6 separate regions of the Homo sapiens genome follow, and all the other regions are linked to region 5. The links are contacts of gene promoters, found by promoter capture Hi-C in blood cells and fetal thymus (Javierre and others, 2016). All regions are on one chromosome and are shown on one strand. Each heading gives the region's core, a stretch centred on a gene start or on the middle of the fragment in contact. The rest is flanking DNA. Distances are from core to core; before and after follow the strand shown.

Region 1 (2,700 bases), core at 102-2,601, 450 kb before region 5:
ATCTCACTGCTAGCAGTTGTTCCTCTGGGCATCTTCCTCATCTCCAAGAGGGAAGGATCACCCGCTCCTCACAGCCTCTAAACTTCCCTGGGTTTCCTGCAGTCTGTTTTCCCACCTCCCTGAGTCTGGCTGCCGAACCCTGTGAAGCTACTTCTCCAGGGTAGTGGTTCTCAAACTTTGGCATGCAGTTGGAGGGCTTGTTAAAATCTTGCTGGGCTCCATCCCCAGTTTCTGATTTAGTAGGTTTGGGGTGGGGGCCCTAGATTTTGCATTTCTTACAGTTTCCCAGATAATGGGGATGCTGCTTATCTGGGAACACCGCTTTGAGACCTGCCACTCCCAAAAAACCTTTCTTGCAACTACACACTAATTATAGGTGTTGCTGCTCGAGAAGCTTCCCATTCAGACCTGAACAGAGATGATTCAGTGTTTGAGCCAGCCCCCAGATAACCAGCTGCCTACCACTTAGCTAATTGCTGGGATCAAGGGGTTGAACAGACATTTTCTGTTTCAGATGCGAACAAGGGGGTGAAAAAATTAAAAAGATACAGGGAAGCAATTGCAATGCCACTGTGCAAGCTTCACCAGTGGACGTTCCAATTAACAATCAGAGAGTACCTGCTGAGCACATTTTAGATTAAGATTAAAAGGAAAAATGATGAAGTACAGATGGGGAGGGGTTACGGAGACCATCATTTACAAGGGATAAAGAAATGGTAAGTAGCTTAAGAATGACAACAACAATAACACACACCCAAGATGATTTACTAGGGACGGGACTGGCTGAGGAACAAGATATCATTTTGTGAAATAATTTCCAACGTTCAAATTCTCCTCACTCTTGTGGCTAGTCCCTTTCTAAATTGAATGGGGCCCTCTCAATTCCCACCAGGATTATGGACAGGCAGAGTTCAGGCCCACAGCACCACAGACATGAGTCAATGCAATAAGCCTAATGATTCTAGACTCTTTTCCTAGTCTCACCTCTGCAATGTTGCCAAATTAATTTAATTAAAAATGTCATTCATCCACCATCACGGTCCCTGCCTGTTTCATATAGTAACTCTAAGCCTGGCTAGGAAGAATTTCTAAAACCTAAACTCATTCTACATCTCTTACTTTATTTTCTACTATGTTTCAGTCCAAACCCTTGCCTTCATTATTTCATGAATGTGACCCATGTATTCCCTAATTTTAAATCTATGCCTTCTCTGTGGCCTCTTCAACTGCTGATTACTCTTTGTGTTCAAACCTTGGGCAGTCTTCGAGGCCAACCTCCAGGCTTGATTCAGCAAACTACTTGTGCCCTCATTGACCTCTCCCATCTCTGAATTCCCATGCTACTGGGAGGAAAAAAATTCTAAACTGCCTCATTATGTTCATATTCAATTATTCTTCAATTCAATGTAATAATACCTGACAATTGTATAAAATTTACATATGCTATTGCATTTGGTCCTCACAAAATGGCAGAATAAAGTAGATATTGTACTATAATCCCCATTTTACAGACAGAGAAGCAGAGGCTCAGATATCCAATCAAGACCCTGCAGCTATGTGGTAGAGTTAGGATAGAGACCCACTAGCCTTGTGCCATACCACTTCCTCTCCAGATGGAGTGCAGCCTTCTTGGAGAGGAAGAGGAAGCATAAGACATAGTGTCTGCTATCTACAGAGCCTCGCCTGGGGCTCATGCAAAAATGATGGGGGTTGACTGATTCATAAATCCTTCATAGAGGAGGACAAACTGCCCTAGAAAATAACTGATGTGTCTGTTGGGTGGTCTAGGAAAATGCAGAGGAAGCAGATGTATTCAACCTGTACCTAACCCTAACCCTGCTCTGTAGAGACTGTCATGTGGGACACTAATAATCCCCAGAAGTCCTCTCTGGGACCCCGTGTGGGGTGGTGGTATCAGGAAGACTGATCCCATCGGCTGAGGGGAAGTTCTTCTGCTTATAGAGGGATAACTCCTAGTTATCCAACTGATTAAAGATGAATGACCCTTCAAGTGGCCCAATTTTCCCTCACCCTCTCCTATTCTAGGAGAACAAGGATGAAGATAATGAAAGCTGATAATACTTAGACACTCTGAAGACTCTTAATTATGAACTAGATGATTAATAAGCTTTGCATCCCATTTGATCCAATCAAAATAAATAAAAAAGATGATATCATATGGATATGGATTTTTATGGAATCTATCTATAACCAAGAGAGTAGGTCTAAGTGATTTGAAGCTTTCCTGGCTACCTCTGGATATCCTGGATAAACTGCCTACACTGGAATAAAAGCATCTAGCCAGCCAGAATATTATGAGACAGACTAATTTTAAAAGGAGGCAAGTCTTTGCAATGTACTTCAAATTAGAAACTGATATTATTATTCATAAAATTTAAGATCACAGAAAAATATTTTGTGAGCTAATAACAATAATGGATTTAGTGTGAATGACATGATATGAATTCATCATTGAGAAAGCAATAATATTTATATAGAACATTTTCTCCTGAACTTGGGACAACACCCCAAGACTGCCCTGAACCTGACGGGATCCAAGCTGAAAGCTTTGTATTCTTTTGGTTTTCTTCATGCTGCCATTTTACTTATCTTATCAGAGCTGTGTACCTAAGAGTTTATCTTTCTAATATCGATTCTTCTCATGTTTACACTGGACGGGGCATGTGTGTTCAATAAGTT
Region 2 (2,700 bases), core at 23-2,522, 360 kb before region 5:
GTAAGTTTGGTCGGTTAGCCAACTGCCATGGGTTTTCTTTCTATTGGATGGTAAACCTCACTGCCGCAGAAGCCATCTCATGGTGAGTTTTGTGGGGAGAGAAACTGAGAAGGGAAGTGATGAAGACCGAGATGGGGCAGCCTTGGCTGGCCATGGTGTCCACCATTCGGGCAGATTGCCTCCTGTTGCCTCCTGCAGCTAACACACAGCCATCACTCATAAAGTCCCAGGCAGATGTGTGCTTTTAGTGCAAAACCTTGGCAATCATTATCTTGAGTGTGGAGGGGCTTTTCTTTTCAGAGTCTCCTTCATGGGCAACTGGATCAACCACACAGAAGGCAGATCCTTCTTATTTGGACAGCTTAGACCTCAGAGAGCCTATACCAACTGAATATTTGTGAGGTAGGATCTGAAAGCACAACCCTGAGCTTCAGGATACTCTTTCTGATGTCTTGACTAGCTCCAGTTTGCCTGGAGGTTTAAAGGAAAATGTACCCAGAAAACCTGGGCTCTTACTCCAGTATCTGTCTAATACAGGAGGAGGAAGCCTTCTCAAAGCCAAAAGAACAGAACACCAAGAGGGGTTCCAAAGATTGGGTTCAAAAAAGTCATTGAATGTTACTTTGAGAAGGAAGCAAGGTCACCTAGTCGTAAGCCTGTATTTTAGAGGAGAAAACTGGGACCCAGAGAGGAATTGACTTGTCCAACGCCCTATTGTGTGTTATGGACAGAAGCAAAATTAGGAGGATGGGTGAAAAAGAAGGAAGTTCCAAAAGCCCACAGGGTCTGCCTTCCATTGCCATAGTCCCAATTGTTGCTCCCCTAGTGAGGGCACAGCTGGCCTAACCACTCACAGGCAAAAGACATAAGACTACAACAGACCCCACAAAACACATGCACATCATCCACTCCTGCAGGAAGTTGTGAGCAGGTTGCCCTGCTCCACCATCACTGCTCAGCAGGAGGTAGAGAGGTAGATGAGAGGAGCACAGGACCTGAGAACCAGGAGAAAAGGATGGCAAGGGAGGCCCAGCCCCAGCCAAGGCCCAGCCCAGTTATGTAATCCACCCTGGGAGGTTATGCCCGCTGCTTTCCATCCACGGATTTTGCAGGATGGGTCTTCACTAGGAAGATGGGGGAAATGTCCCAGAGGGAATCCTCACCAGCCCTGTCCCATGTCAAGTTCTTTATGCCTCTGAACCTTCCTCAAACGGTGTCCCCCCTTCCTTGCCCTTGCCCCACCTCTCCACATTCACAGGGCATCTTAATTCCCTAAGCTGAGTCAACATGAGTACCACAGTCCTCTCCGCTTAACCAGGCTGCTGCATCTCAGAGTGAGCCTCACAGACACGCACAGAATCAGCACCTGCTGGGCATTTTCATGTAATTTGATGATCACCTCTGTAATAAGACTCCTCAGGAGCTGAGACCATCCTTCGTCTACCTTCTAGCATTGTGTCTCCATTGGGCCATTGAGGCCATCTGCTCTGGAAGTTCCTGCAGGGGCCTGCTAACAGGTAGATGCCTAGGCCTAATCCCTGACTTGCAAACTCAGAATCTTGAGCCAGTTCAGGAATAACTGCCTAGAGTGCCTCCCACAGCAAAGGGCATACTGCAGACATCAGGAAACACTCATTGATCACAGAGAGGGGCTTGGCGTCAGGGGACCTAATTTTAACCTTGCTGTGTGGCCCTGCGGAAGTCACTTAACCCTCTGGTATTCAACTTCTTCACCTCTAAAATAAATGTCAGACATTTGTGGATCATGGATGTGAAGTTACCAACACAGATCCAGGCTCAGCAGGTACTCAATTCGAGATGTCTGTATTATGCGTGAGGTTTGTTCATACACAGATTGACCCAGTAACTACCCTGAACCAGATCCCCAGGGAGTGGGTTTCTAAAGGCTGGGGACTGGGCCTGGCTTGAGAATATACTAATCACACAATATATTTATAATAGCCAAACACACTACATAACCTATCATATTATAAATGAATAATACTATAAAATATTAATAGCAAACAAAATATGGTACATATTTTGTGCCAGGCACTATTCTAAATATTTTACTTATATTTCCCCATTTAATCCCCACAAAAAATTTAGAAGATAGTTCTATTATTATTATCCCCACTTTATAGCTGAGGAAACTGAGGCCCAGGGCTGTTAGGTAATTCTCCCAATGTCCTGTAGCCAGTAAATGACACACAGCGGGGATTCTTCAAACTCCCACACCTTCCTGAGATGTCAGCTGGCTGTGTGGTTCATGCCTTCTCTTCATTGTCTCTGCCCTGAGATGTGCTCAGCAAGTGGTCGTTGCCTTAAGAGAGCTTTGCCTTCCCAGCATGGTTGGGGGAAGCTCTCCCTCCTTCAAGGGAGGAGAAGAAGGGGTGAGGAGCCACTAACAGGGCTCACCTGCAAAGTTTTCAGGACCATACCTCCAGGCCAAACTCTAATGAGAAGGAGCATTCCTGGGCCTCAGCTCCCTGGGGTTCAGACTTGGCCCCTTACCATAAAGAGGTCAACTAATGCAAAATGCAGAGGCTGCACCATGATAGCTTTTCCACGATGGGTCTGGGCCAGGATTGAGGGCACTGTCCAGCAAGCTGATGCATTTTTAAAACTTCCGAATCATTGATACTACCTCCCCAGGGAAAGGAAGACCTCAGCAGTTTCTCCAACACCCAGTCCACATGC
Region 3 (2,700 bases), core at 169-2,668, 270 kb before region 5:
TTGGGGACAGCCATGCTGGAATGCCTGATTTTTACATGTCCAAGTACCTATTTCCTACCAAAAAAAAAGCCCTTCCACATATGATAAGAACACATCTTTTCTTGCAGGGCTGTCAAGTTCATTCTAAACACCCCTGCCGCTGCCTGTTTGAGATTGATGCCTCTCCAATCTCTAGCTCTTTGTTTGAAATTAAACATCCAAAGACCTTTAGAATAAAAAAAGTCAACATACAAATGAAATGCATTTCAACATGCATCTCAACTGCAGAACCACAGCATGTTGAGACTGGACCAAGCAAACCCTGAAGAAGTTTCCCCTCTTGCTCCTCTGTGGTAGATGACCTATCCAAGTTCACACAACAGGTAACATGGAGCATGTGGAGAGACTCAGCATAGGCCAGTGCAGTAGCGGGGTCTACTGGAAAAGACTTGGCCTTTGAAGTCTCATTCCAATCCCAGCCTTGCATTGACCAACTCTGTGACCTTGACCTTGAAAAAGTAGAGTCACAGTGCCCTCTACTTCACAGGGTTGTTTGGAGAATTACTGAAAATGTGCACAAAATACCTGATACACAGTGGGGCACTCAGCTAACACCAGTCATTCCTGTAATCCAGGTCTCCCAACTTCTAGTCCAGTGCTCTTTGCACAACAACACCATATGAAGACTCTGAGCTATCCAAATAAGTGCACTTGAACCACAGGTTAAATCCCCTTCCTCTCATCAGAAATACAGGCTAGCACCGCCCAGCGTTCTTTAAAGACAGCCAGGAAAACAAACCAAATTCATACTACTTACCCAACACTGAACGAGACACGCTGGCTCCCTTTCCTTTATTTTGTTTCCCTTCTATTTGTCCTGGGTTTGTGGTTCTCGGGCAAGGTGAACTCTGCTCAGTATGATATGTGACCCCTGGCCACAGTTGCATATGGCCCTGCCTCAGTTGCTGCCTGCTCCTTACTTGATTCTCCAGGTCCACACTCCTTTCCTGTGCCATCTTCCCCTGTGGCACCTGTGTGTAGGAATCTTCAACAGCTGCACCGCCAACAGAGAAGCCACAAGCTGGAGCCCCACAAGTTTCCCCCCAGGCCCCATGCATGGGTCAGCAGTCTTGACCCCTGGGCTGATTTTAATATTTTAATTAAATTGACAACATGTAAAAAATCTGGAGATTTCACAACAATGCAGATTTCTGACTTCTTTTGACAAATTACAAACTGGCCAAATGTCCACAGCTGGCCAGAGCTGTGAGGCAGCTGCTCCCTTCATCTGGAAAGACTCTTGCTCCACTGGTCAAAGTCCCCACCGGTCCCCTCATTGCAACCTCACCATTCCCTATCAACCTCTGAGTTTTCCACCCCTGTTATGATATGCACTTCCAGTTCTCCAGCTGGACACTCAAGATGTGTCACCACATGGCCCACTGCACTTATTCAATCTCTTCTCCTGGGAACCCTGGAAAATCTCTCTGCTTCTAGGCTCTGCTGGGAGCAATTCCCCTCCTACAATGTCCTCCTTGCTCTTTTATTTATCCAACCCAATCAAGAGTATCTCTGCTTAAAAAATTCTTGCTGACCACCCAAGCCACAAAGAGCTCTCCTTTCCTTAAAGCATGGAGTCAACAGTTATCTTACCTACCTTCACATAGTTGGTTCTTCCTGTTTGCACATCCTGTTTCCCTAGCTAAATTGTAAACTTCTTGAGTTCACATTTGTTTGCCTTCCCCAGAAGGCAGCCACAGACTTTCCAAAGGGAAAGTTCTGAACAAAGATTAATTGTTTGGTCAGGAGCTATCAACCATATCATCACTCAGTGCAAGACCAGTCTCTCCAGCCTCTTTTGCCTCCACTCCACTTCCCTTGTTCCCCTCTCAAATCCACCCAAACCCCCATCCTCCTGGAATCACTCCAAAAGGACTAGAATTTGTTTCCTGTTTTGCCCACGATTGTTCCCATCGCTGCCACTCCCCAGGGCTAAACACAGAACCTGCCACATAACAAAAGCTCAGCATATGCACATTAAATGGAAAGTGCCTTACTTTTTAGTCCCTATATCTTAACATCTGCAGTTCACCAGGCTGACCATGCCCTTCTCCCTTTTCACCAACAGATCTACGGGTCTTGGAAATCCCAGTTCAGTGTTCCTCTCTCAATCTTTTTCTCTTCCTTTACTCAGCCAAGTCACTCCTCTCTCTAGGCGCCGCAGTCCTTTGCTCTTGCCTGCCACAGCCATTGCCAAATGTTGGTGCAATTGTTTGCCCACACCTGTTTTTCCCTTGGATGCCAAGGTCTTCCGGATCCAGGATTGTGTGATCTTCTTCCATGCGCTTGCCTGGTTCCCCAAGTCATAACTGGACATAATTAGTCTGGTGGAGAAGGCAAGTATTATGGCCCTCATTTTTCCAATGAGAAAATGGAAGCAAGGCACCAGGCTCCCTGCATGCAGCAGAGAGATGGAAGAGGAAGAGAGGAGCAGCTTGGGTGAGAAGACTTGGTTCTATTAGCAGGGGTCAAGCAATGGAATGGAAATGTGTCATGTCCTTTCAAGGTCATCTGTGGAGCAATGTTTAACAGCCTGCCCAAGAAATATTTAATTACCTAGAGGAAAGTAAGTACCTTTGTTGACTTGATATTTGCTACCAACTAAATAGCCAGATTATGTGAAGTTACACATTAATGTGTAGGATTTTGCCTAGTAGAAAT
Region 4 (2,700 bases), core at 137-2,636, 320 kb before region 5:
CTTGGCTTAGAAGTCAAGATTGGATGCAGAACTAGGCAAGTTGCTTTTCTGAGCAAAGAGAGTGCTGGCCCACCCCACATCCTCCCCTGGCTGCTGGCCCGCTGCAAGCCTTGGCACACAAGAGAAGGAGGCAGAAGTGCATTTGTTTATTCATTCACCCACAAACATGCCTCAAGCAATTGAGCACCTACTGAGGCCAGAGTAGTTTTGGGCTCTGCGGAGAACATACATATAAATAAGAAACCATCCTTGACCTTGAGGAATTTATAAGCTAGGAGGAAAAATAACAGGTACATTAACTCAGGTGTCAGCTGTCTCTGGCTTCTCCAGTGCCTAGGCCCATGTATACAGCATCTTGTTTTGCCCTGAATAACTTTCATCCTGAAGGTTACACTTTTTTGAGCTTCTCCCTCTTGTCCCTCATCCCACCCCATCACCACCCCATGCCATTGCTCCAGATACAAGCAAAAAGGAACAACACAGACTGTTGAAGATTTCACAGGTAAGGCAGAAAAGGAATTTAAATCACATATCTCATGGCAAATGCTCTAACAGATTTTGAGTTTGCCTTAGTTCCTTCCAGGCCAAAGCACAACCAAGGATTTCCTTCCCTGACCTTTTCCCACAGAGTTCCTTGAGGTAGAAAGGTGGCTCCAAGAAGCCCAAGTCCTTCACTCGCCCTCCAAAAGCCTCACCTTTTCACTAGAGCAGTCTTCACCCCTTGTAGATGTCATTAAGGATATTCACAAATACTCCTATTACGTCCTCTTTCTGGGCAATTGTAGGATTGCACTTTCTAGTTTCCTAAAGTTAAGTGTGGCTGAGTGCTGAGTGGTTTGCTCTAGCCAATGTAACATGAGCCACATGATGCGTGACACTTCTGGATGGAAGCTCTTAGCCAGAGCAGTTCACCACTGCCTCCTGCCAAGACGGTGCTGGAAGCAAAGACCAAGAGGAAGTTTCCATCAATCTGGTTTGCTGAGTGACTCTGATGAACAGCCTCCACCCTCCTACTGGCCTCCTACCTTCATGACTGATATATACTGTATTGAGCAAGAAATAAACCTTTCTTGTGTTATGCCACTGTGGGGGCTGTCTGTTACTGTAGCAGAGCATGGCCTCACTTGACTGATACTGCCCTCTTCGAAGCAGAACAATTCTGCTTTGCTCTGACCTACAGTCAGACTTTCACACTAAACCAAGGTGGGCACTCACCAAACAAAAGATTCTCCAGGTAACACAATCTACACTCTGTGGATGGAAAGTTATGGCATCTTTTGATGGTGGAGCATTTTCCTTGAGGTCTTACCCCTTACTCCATGAGACTCATCAACATATTTTTTCTAAACAAAATGGTGGAGAAGAATTCTGGGGAAAGAATTCTGGGGAAAGAGTGTCTGGCACAAAAGAAATATGCTCTGGGAAGTGCATGAAAAAGGTAAGTGTCAAAACAGTGGAGACACAGGAAATAGTAGCATTAATTTGGACATAAGATGTCTTCAAGAAGAAAGTGAAGTCCCCCAAACTTTCATGCAGGTTTCTCTGCAAGGAAGGAAGGGGCTACTCCCCTAAGAACCTAATTGGAATGTGGCTCTGGGTGCCAAAGCTGAGGCTGAGACCCTAGGCACACTCAAAGAAGGAAGAGGGAGCTTCTGTGGCTCTCGGTGCTCTGCTTCTCTGGGTCAAACCCTTCTTGCCACACAGGTGTGGGAGCCTGAGCAGGCCAGTCCACTCCTGCCCTCCTTTCAGCCCACTCCCTGGGCCAGGATGCACACAGGTATGTATTCCCCAATTTGAGCCCTGCCTCACTTCTTCCTCGTTGTTACCTGCCAGCACCACCACACTTGAGAACAGCAGACACATTGAACTAAATATGATATGATGTAACTCTAGCCTAGGAGTTACAGAAAAAAACCCAAGCACATTTCTAAAATATTCGAGAATCCTGTGTTGAATGTTAAAGAAACCAACCACATAGGATCTTTATAACACACCAAGGCAGGCACTCACGGCCTGTCCTGAACAAATCCAAATCTTTTATCCCTGGAACCTACGTCATTGTCCACCTCCAGGAATCTGTGCTGTTGAGCTGACGGCTCCTCCACTACAATGTTCTGCTCATTCAAGACTCTGTCCTCAGTGGTTCATCTCCCTCATTCACATCCCCCATCAAAATATGTCTGACTTGTATCCTATTCTTTCAGGGCCTTTCTAAGAAAATTCCAAATGTACTCTAGCAGCTTAATATTTTGCCTTCCCTAGGCAAGATGTTTATATTTAATCAAACAACTTCTGGGAATGATGTATGTTTAGTGTAAAGATATGCATTACTCAGAGTGGAAATTTTCAGTATGCAACAGATCATAATGGACAGAAGGCTCTTTGTGGAGTCCGTGGCTTCACCCTACATGCCATTCTATAATATATACCACATGTGCCAAATAAATCCCCTAAATACAGCTCCAAAAATAACATATCAGTATCCATTCTCAAGTAAGCGACTTCTGCCATACCCAGAGGAGAAAGCATCAGATTAGGTAACTCTGCTTAGTGGTAACATTCTCTAAAGATGAAAGCACTTTTCCCACTGACAGAAGCATGGCTCCAAGAAGCCCAAGTCCTGAGGATATTGTCAGTAAAACCACACACACAGGTCACAGCTTGTTATTAATCAATTAATTCTCAGCTTGCTTTGTCCCA
Region 5 (2,700 bases), core at 85-2,584:
CCGCGCTGCTGGTGGCATTTCCGGGGACCCAAAGTGGGTGGCCTGGGGGCAAAGGAACAGAGGCCGAAGAACTTGGGGTATGTTCCACTAGAGCACCTAAGGGACGGAGTGGGAGGTTACATCAGATATGCGACCTCGACACATTCCAAAAGTGGCAGCCCCGTGGGCTACCCCCAATAGTGGGATGGATCTCCCCAACTTCTCTCGCCCCTCGAAGTCCCCCTGTTATCTCGGGCCATGCTCCTCCCCCGGGATTCCCTTGTGCAAAATTATTCTCTCCCTTGCCCAAAGGATTTTTCCCTTCTTTCTGACCCCACGAACTCATCTCCCCAACAGGTTCCTAAAGTATGGGCGGATGTGCTCCCTCTCGCCCACCGCCAGGAGCCGAGCCCCGGCAGGTGAGCGGTGCAAAACACGCACCCAGCTGCCCCCAGCTTCCTCCGTCCCCGCTGAGTTGGCTGTCCCCACCCCGCACCACGGCACCCGAGCCTGTGAGTCCCCGACCCCGGCCCCAGCCGCAGCCGCCAACAACCCTACAATAAACAAGAGGACAGGATTGAGCGTCCGCGTCCCGGAGCGCACTGGCTGGGGGCAACTCCTCACCCCCGGCGCGCCGCCCGCTGCCCCGATCCGAGAGCACCGGGAGAGCCGAGGGAAGGGAAGGCGGCGAGGGGAAGGCAGGCGGGGATGGAGGGAGGCACGGCGCGGCGCGGAGCGAGGAGGTGGGCTGCAGGGGACGCCGAGAAGCGGTGGGGCTGGCGCAGAGGGCGGGCGCCCGGGGCGCGCGTTACCTTCGTCTTGCCCCCGCAGTGGCAGCACACGGTCCACAGGTACTTGAGCGTCCGCCAGAGCAAGATGATGAAGAGGCCCCCGAAGAAAGTCACCATGGAGGAGGCCAGGAAAGCCCACCACATGCGTTGGCCCCGGCTGTCGCACGGCACCTCCATGGTCACCGGGATGATGAGCGCATCCATCTTGGGCTCGTGGACCGAGGACGAGGAGGAAGAGGAGGAGGAAGAAGAAGAAGAGGAAGAGGAGGAGGAGGAGGAGGAGGACGCGTCTAGGCTGAGATGGTTCGCGTGGATATTGCTACTCATTCTAAGACTGCTGCCTCCGCCGCCGCCGCCGCCGCCGCTGCTGCCGCCGCCGCCGCCGCCACCATTTGCCATAGCTAGCAACGGGCAGCCGGCGCAGGGGCTCGGGGGAGCTCCTCCCGCCGCCAGCGCCACCCCAAACACCCATCAACAGCCATATTGCTGCTACTGCTGCCGCCGCCGCCGCCGCCGCGGAGCGCGGGAGGGGGGCGGGGAGGCGCCTGGGCTCGGGGCGCTGTGCGCGACCTGGCGGGGTGCGCCGAGATATATACAGCGAGCCGCCGCCGCCCGCCCGGGGGGGAGGGGGATGGAGTGCGCGGGCAGCTCCCCCTCCCCGGCCCGCGCCCCGCTCGCCCCGGGCTGCGCTGGCCCCGAGCGCCGAGAGCCAGGGGGCGCCGCGGGCCGCCCGCGCCCGGGGTCTGCGCCGCCCCCGGGCCCGCCCCGGCTCCGCGCGCGGTCCCGGGTGTCCTCGGCGCCGCGCCGCCCGCCGTGCGCCACGGGTGTGCGCTGCGCTCGGCCGGTGACCCCCTTCCCCGAGCGCCTCCCGCGCGGCTAACGAGCCGCTCTCCGCTTATTAGGTGGTAACTCGTTAATAATGGATAATCGGCCCCCTCCGCCCGGGCGCCCCTGCGCCAGCCCTCCTCCCCCGGCTGCGCTCGGCTCCGGCTCGCCGCGCCAGTGCGCGCCCGGCCGCGGCAGGTTCACCGCGTCCGGCCGCCGGCCCGTGGCCGCCTGCTAGCCCATGTTCTCGGGACCCCCTAGTCCTGTCGCCACGCCGCTGAGCCCCTCGGCCTCCGCTCGCTCTTCCTCCTTGCCGCCTCCGACTCCTCCTCGTCCCCGTCCTCGCCGCCCAAGCCTCTTCGGCGCGCGCCCCGCGCTCCCCGCAGCCGCCAGCAGCAGCAGCTGCAGCAACTGGAGCGGGCGCGGACTCAGGACGACCCAGGCGGGAGGGGAGGAGGCTCGCCGCGCTGGCTCGCCTGGGCTCCGGGCTGGGCAGGGGTGGGCAGGGCCCCTCGGCAGCGGCCCGGCAAGCGCCCCTGACCCCCAGGGCGCAAGGTAGAGCGCCCCCAGCCCAGGCGCGGGGCCAGGCGCCTCTCTCCAAGGTGCTGCGCCCCCAGCCGAGAGCGGTGGGGTACACTGGGAGGACGGCGGGGCGCCCCGGTCAGGCCGTTTTTTTCCCCAAAGAGCCCCCAGTGGGGAGGGGAGGAGTGGCCAGCTGTCAACTGGATTCCACAGGCTGAGCTCCCCAGGACCCTCGGGCTTCGGGAGTGAGGAGGACCCCACGCCAGGATACACACAGCTACCCACCCCTACTTCGCTCTTCCTGCTACCTATGTGCCCAGGGTCCCGCGTGTGGCTGGAGGGTAGAGTCAGGAAGGCCAGCGGGTGGTCTGTGGCCTCTGACAGCAGCAGGTGGTTTCTCTCCTTTTTCCTTATTAGCAACAGAGGCTGCCCAACAAAGAGTAGGCAGAAATGATCAAGGACGACCTGGCCTGGGGATAGTGCAGGCCCCGATAGACAATAGAGTTCCCTGAAGGGTTGCTTTCCTCTCATATAGTCTCAGACTCCATCCATCCCGTGAGGAGGGCAGATGGGGGAAGAGGGA
Region 6 (2,700 bases), core at 158-2,657, 430 kb before region 5:
TGTTCTATGGTTATGCAGTACTTGGCCAAGCTCAGTGGGTAATTTCTCCTAAGTATATATATGCTTAAATGGCACCTACCAATTATCTCTCTTTGGAAGAGTGCAAGTGTAGCATGCCCACTCTCCCAGATGTGTGCACATTCCCGCCTCCACAGAGCTGTCTCTTCGCCTCTCCTCTCTAGAAGCTCTGGGTTAGTCCTTTCTCCAGGCACAGAGGCAGCTGAGTGAACTCAGCCTAGGGGAGCTATCACTGTTCTTTTCTTACCTCTAGGAGTTACAACAGAGAAAACCTGTTCTCCAGAAAAAGACCACCCTCTACAATGTCTTCATAGGAAAAAAAATGGTCACACCTGTGACACAGCCCTAATTGAATTCTTATAGGCACCTCAGATCAAAGCTACCCAATAACCTGAGGTAATGGAAAAGAAAAACAATAGAGTATGACATTTATTCATGTACCAAATTCTTGGTTTCTCACCTATTAATTTTTGGTCTTGCAAATTTTGCTGGAACAGAACATGATAGAGTACTGGCTCTGAAGTTCTAGGTTCAGATAACAAACTCAAAAGGGGTTTAGGAAACTAATCCAAGGGAGAATCATAAATTTGAACCTTAACATGGACTCTGTTCTCCACATTAAAATATATTGTACTACCTTTTTTCATATAACATATCAAAGAAACCAAGAGTTGGCTCTTCGAAAGAATATACAAGAATGCTAGACAGCTGGCCAGATTAACAAAAAAAGAAGATTCAAATAAGTGCAATCAGAAATGACACAGATGACATTACAACTGATCCCACAGAATTACAAAAGATTCTCGAAGACTATTATGAATACCTCTATGCACATAAATTAGGAAATCTAGAGGAGATAGATAAATTCCTGGAAACACACAACCTCCCAAGATTGAACCAGGAAGAAAGTGAAAACCTGAACAGACCAATAACAAGCTCTGAAATGGAATCAGTAATTTAAAAAAAACCTACCAACCAAAAAAAAAAAAAAAAGTCCTGGACCAGATGGGTTCACAACCAAATTCTACCAGATGTGCAAGGAACTGGTACCAATCCTACTGCAACTATGCCAAAACACTGAGGAGGAAGGGCTCCTCCCTGATGCATTCTATGAAGCCAGCATCATCTTTATACCAGAAGATGGCAGAGACACAACAAAAAAAGAAAAACATTAGGCCAATATCCCTGATGAACATAGATGCAAAAATCCTCAATAAAATACTGGCAAATCAAATCCAGTGGCACATCAAAAAGTTAATTCACCACAAACCAAGTAGGCTTTATCCCTGGGATGCAAGGTTGGTTCAGTATATGCAAATCAATAAATGCGATTAGCATTATAAACAGAATTAAAAGCAAAAACACATGATCATCTCAATAGCCTCAGAAAAAGATTTTGATTAAATCTAACATCCCTTCATGATAGAAACTCTGAAAAGAGTAAGCATCAAAGGAACATACCTCAAAATAATAAAAACCATCTATGACAAACCCACAACCAACATTATACTGAATGGGCAAAGCTACAAGCATTCCCCTTGAGAAGAGGAACAAAGCAAAGACTCCCGCTCTCATTACTCCTATTCAATATGGCATTGCAAGTCCTAGCCTGAGCAACCAGGCAAGAGAAAGAAAGAAAAGGCAACCAAATAGGAAAAGAAGAAGTCAAACTACCTCTCTTCACTGATAATATTACTCTTTACTTAGAAAACCCTAAAGATTCTTATAAAAGGCTGTTATAACTGATCAATGATTTTAGCAAGGTTTCAGAATACAAAATCAATGTACAAAAATCAGTAGCATTTCTACACACCAACAACATCCATGCTGAGAGTCAAATCAAGAACACAGTCCCATTGACAATAGCCACACAGAAAATAAAATACCTAGGAGCACAGCTAAAAAAGGAAGTGAAAGATCTCTATGTGGAGAACTACAAAACACTGCTGAAAGAAGTCAGAGACAACACAAATAAATGGAAAAACATTTCATGCTCATGGATAGGAAGACTGAATATTGTTAAAATGGCCATACTACCTAAAGCAATTTACAGATTCAACACTATTCCTATCAAACTACCAATAACATTCTTCACAGAATTAGAAAAAACTATTCTAAAGTTCATATGACTCCATAAAAGAGCCTGAGTGGCCAAAGCAATTCTAAACAACAAAAACAAAAACAAAAAAACAAAGCTGGAGGCATCAAACTACCAACAAAGCTGGAGGCATCAAACTACCTGACTTCAAATATACTATAAGGCTACAGTAACCAAAACAGCATGGTATTGGTAAAAAAAACAGACATATAGATCAGTGGGACTGAACAGAGAACACAGAAATAAAGCCGCACATCTAGAGCCATCTGATTTTCAACAAGGCTGACAAAAACAAGCAGTGGGGAAGGGACTCTCTATTAAATAAATGGTGTGGGTATAACTGGCTAACCATACGTAGAAGAATGAAACTGGACTCTTACCTTTCACCATGTACAAAAATTAACTCAAAATGGATTAAAGATTTAAATAGAAGACCTCAAACTATAAAATCTTTGAAGAAAACCTAGGAAATACCCATCTCAACATCAGCCTTGGCAAAGAATTTTTTACTAAGTTCCTAAAAGCAACTATAACAAAAACAAAAATTGACAAGTGGGACCTAATTAAACTAAAGAGCTTTTGCA

Evidence for each region. The method cuts DNA at HindIII sites, captures the fragments that hold promoters and counts their contacts. A CHiCAGO score of 5 or more calls a contact.
Region 1: a fragment that was not itself captured here is called in contact with the fragment with the promoter of KCNMA1 in region 5 in 17 of 17 cell types (naive CD8 T cells, total CD8 T cells, endothelial precursors and 14 more); the score reaches 29.2 in naive CD8 T cells.
Region 2: a contact is called between a fragment that was not itself captured here and the fragment with the promoter of KCNMA1 in region 5, in 11 of 17 cell types (endothelial precursors, total B cells, naive CD8 T cells and 8 more). The highest score is 13.0, in endothelial precursors.
Region 3: a contact is called between a fragment that was not itself captured here and the fragment with the promoter of KCNMA1 in region 5, in 2 of 17 cell types (endothelial precursors and M0 macrophages). The highest score is 6.2, in endothelial precursors.
Region 4: a contact is called between a fragment that was not itself captured here and the fragment with the promoter of KCNMA1 in region 5, in 3 of 17 cell types (total CD8 T cells, M1 macrophages and M0 macrophages). The highest score is 6.4, in total CD8 T cells.
Region 6: a contact is called between a fragment that was not itself captured here and the fragment with the promoter of KCNMA1 in region 5, in 11 of 17 cell types (naive CD8 T cells, neutrophils, total CD8 T cells and 8 more). The highest score is 13.9, in naive CD8 T cells.

Annotation. Positions count from the first base shown.
Region 1 is chr10:77,188,865-77,191,564 of GRCh38, forward strand. The region is part of intron 3 of KCNMA1 (potassium calcium-activated channel subfamily M alpha 1); the gene reads right to left. Among named protein-coding and RNA genes, the nearest start is that of KCNMA1-AS2, 49 kb to the left of the region's middle. The HindIII fragment of the contact is 1,549 bases long and covers 578-2,126 here.
Region 2 is chr10:77,274,794-77,277,493 of GRCh38, forward strand. All of the region lies in intron 2 of KCNMA1 (potassium calcium-activated channel subfamily M alpha 1), which reads right to left. Among named protein-coding and RNA genes, the nearest start is that of KCNMA1-AS3, 75 kb to the right of the region's middle. The HindIII fragment of the contact is 6,121 bases long and covers 1-2,700 here.
Region 3 is chr10:77,370,343-77,373,042 of GRCh38, forward strand. The region is part of intron 2 of KCNMA1 (potassium calcium-activated channel subfamily M alpha 1); the gene reads right to left. It overlaps KCNMA1-AS3 (KCNMA1 antisense RNA 3), which reads left to right. Exons shown (of 6, transcript NR_126365.1): 4 at 2,505-2,605. Among named protein-coding and RNA genes, the nearest start is that of KCNMA1-AS3, 21 kb to the left of the region's middle. The HindIII fragment of the contact is 6,218 bases long and covers 1-2,700 here.
Region 4 is chr10:77,318,834-77,321,533 of GRCh38, forward strand. All of the region lies in intron 2 of KCNMA1 (potassium calcium-activated channel subfamily M alpha 1), which reads right to left. Among named protein-coding and RNA genes, the nearest start is that of KCNMA1-AS3, 31 kb to the right of the region's middle. The HindIII fragment of the contact is 3,327 bases long and covers 1-2,700 here.
Region 5 is chr10:77,636,474-77,639,173 of GRCh38, forward strand. It overlaps KCNMA1 (potassium calcium-activated channel subfamily M alpha 1), which reads right to left and starts at 1,335. Exons shown (of 28, transcript NM_001161352.2): 1 at 792-1,335. The coding sequence starts at 1,169. The HindIII fragment of the contact is 4,792 bases long and covers 1-2,700 here.
Region 6 is chr10:77,208,934-77,211,633 of GRCh38, forward strand. The region is part of intron 3 of KCNMA1 (potassium calcium-activated channel subfamily M alpha 1); the gene reads right to left. Among named protein-coding and RNA genes, the nearest start is that of KCNMA1-AS2, 69 kb to the left of the region's middle. The HindIII fragment of the contact is 8,406 bases long and covers 1-2,700 here.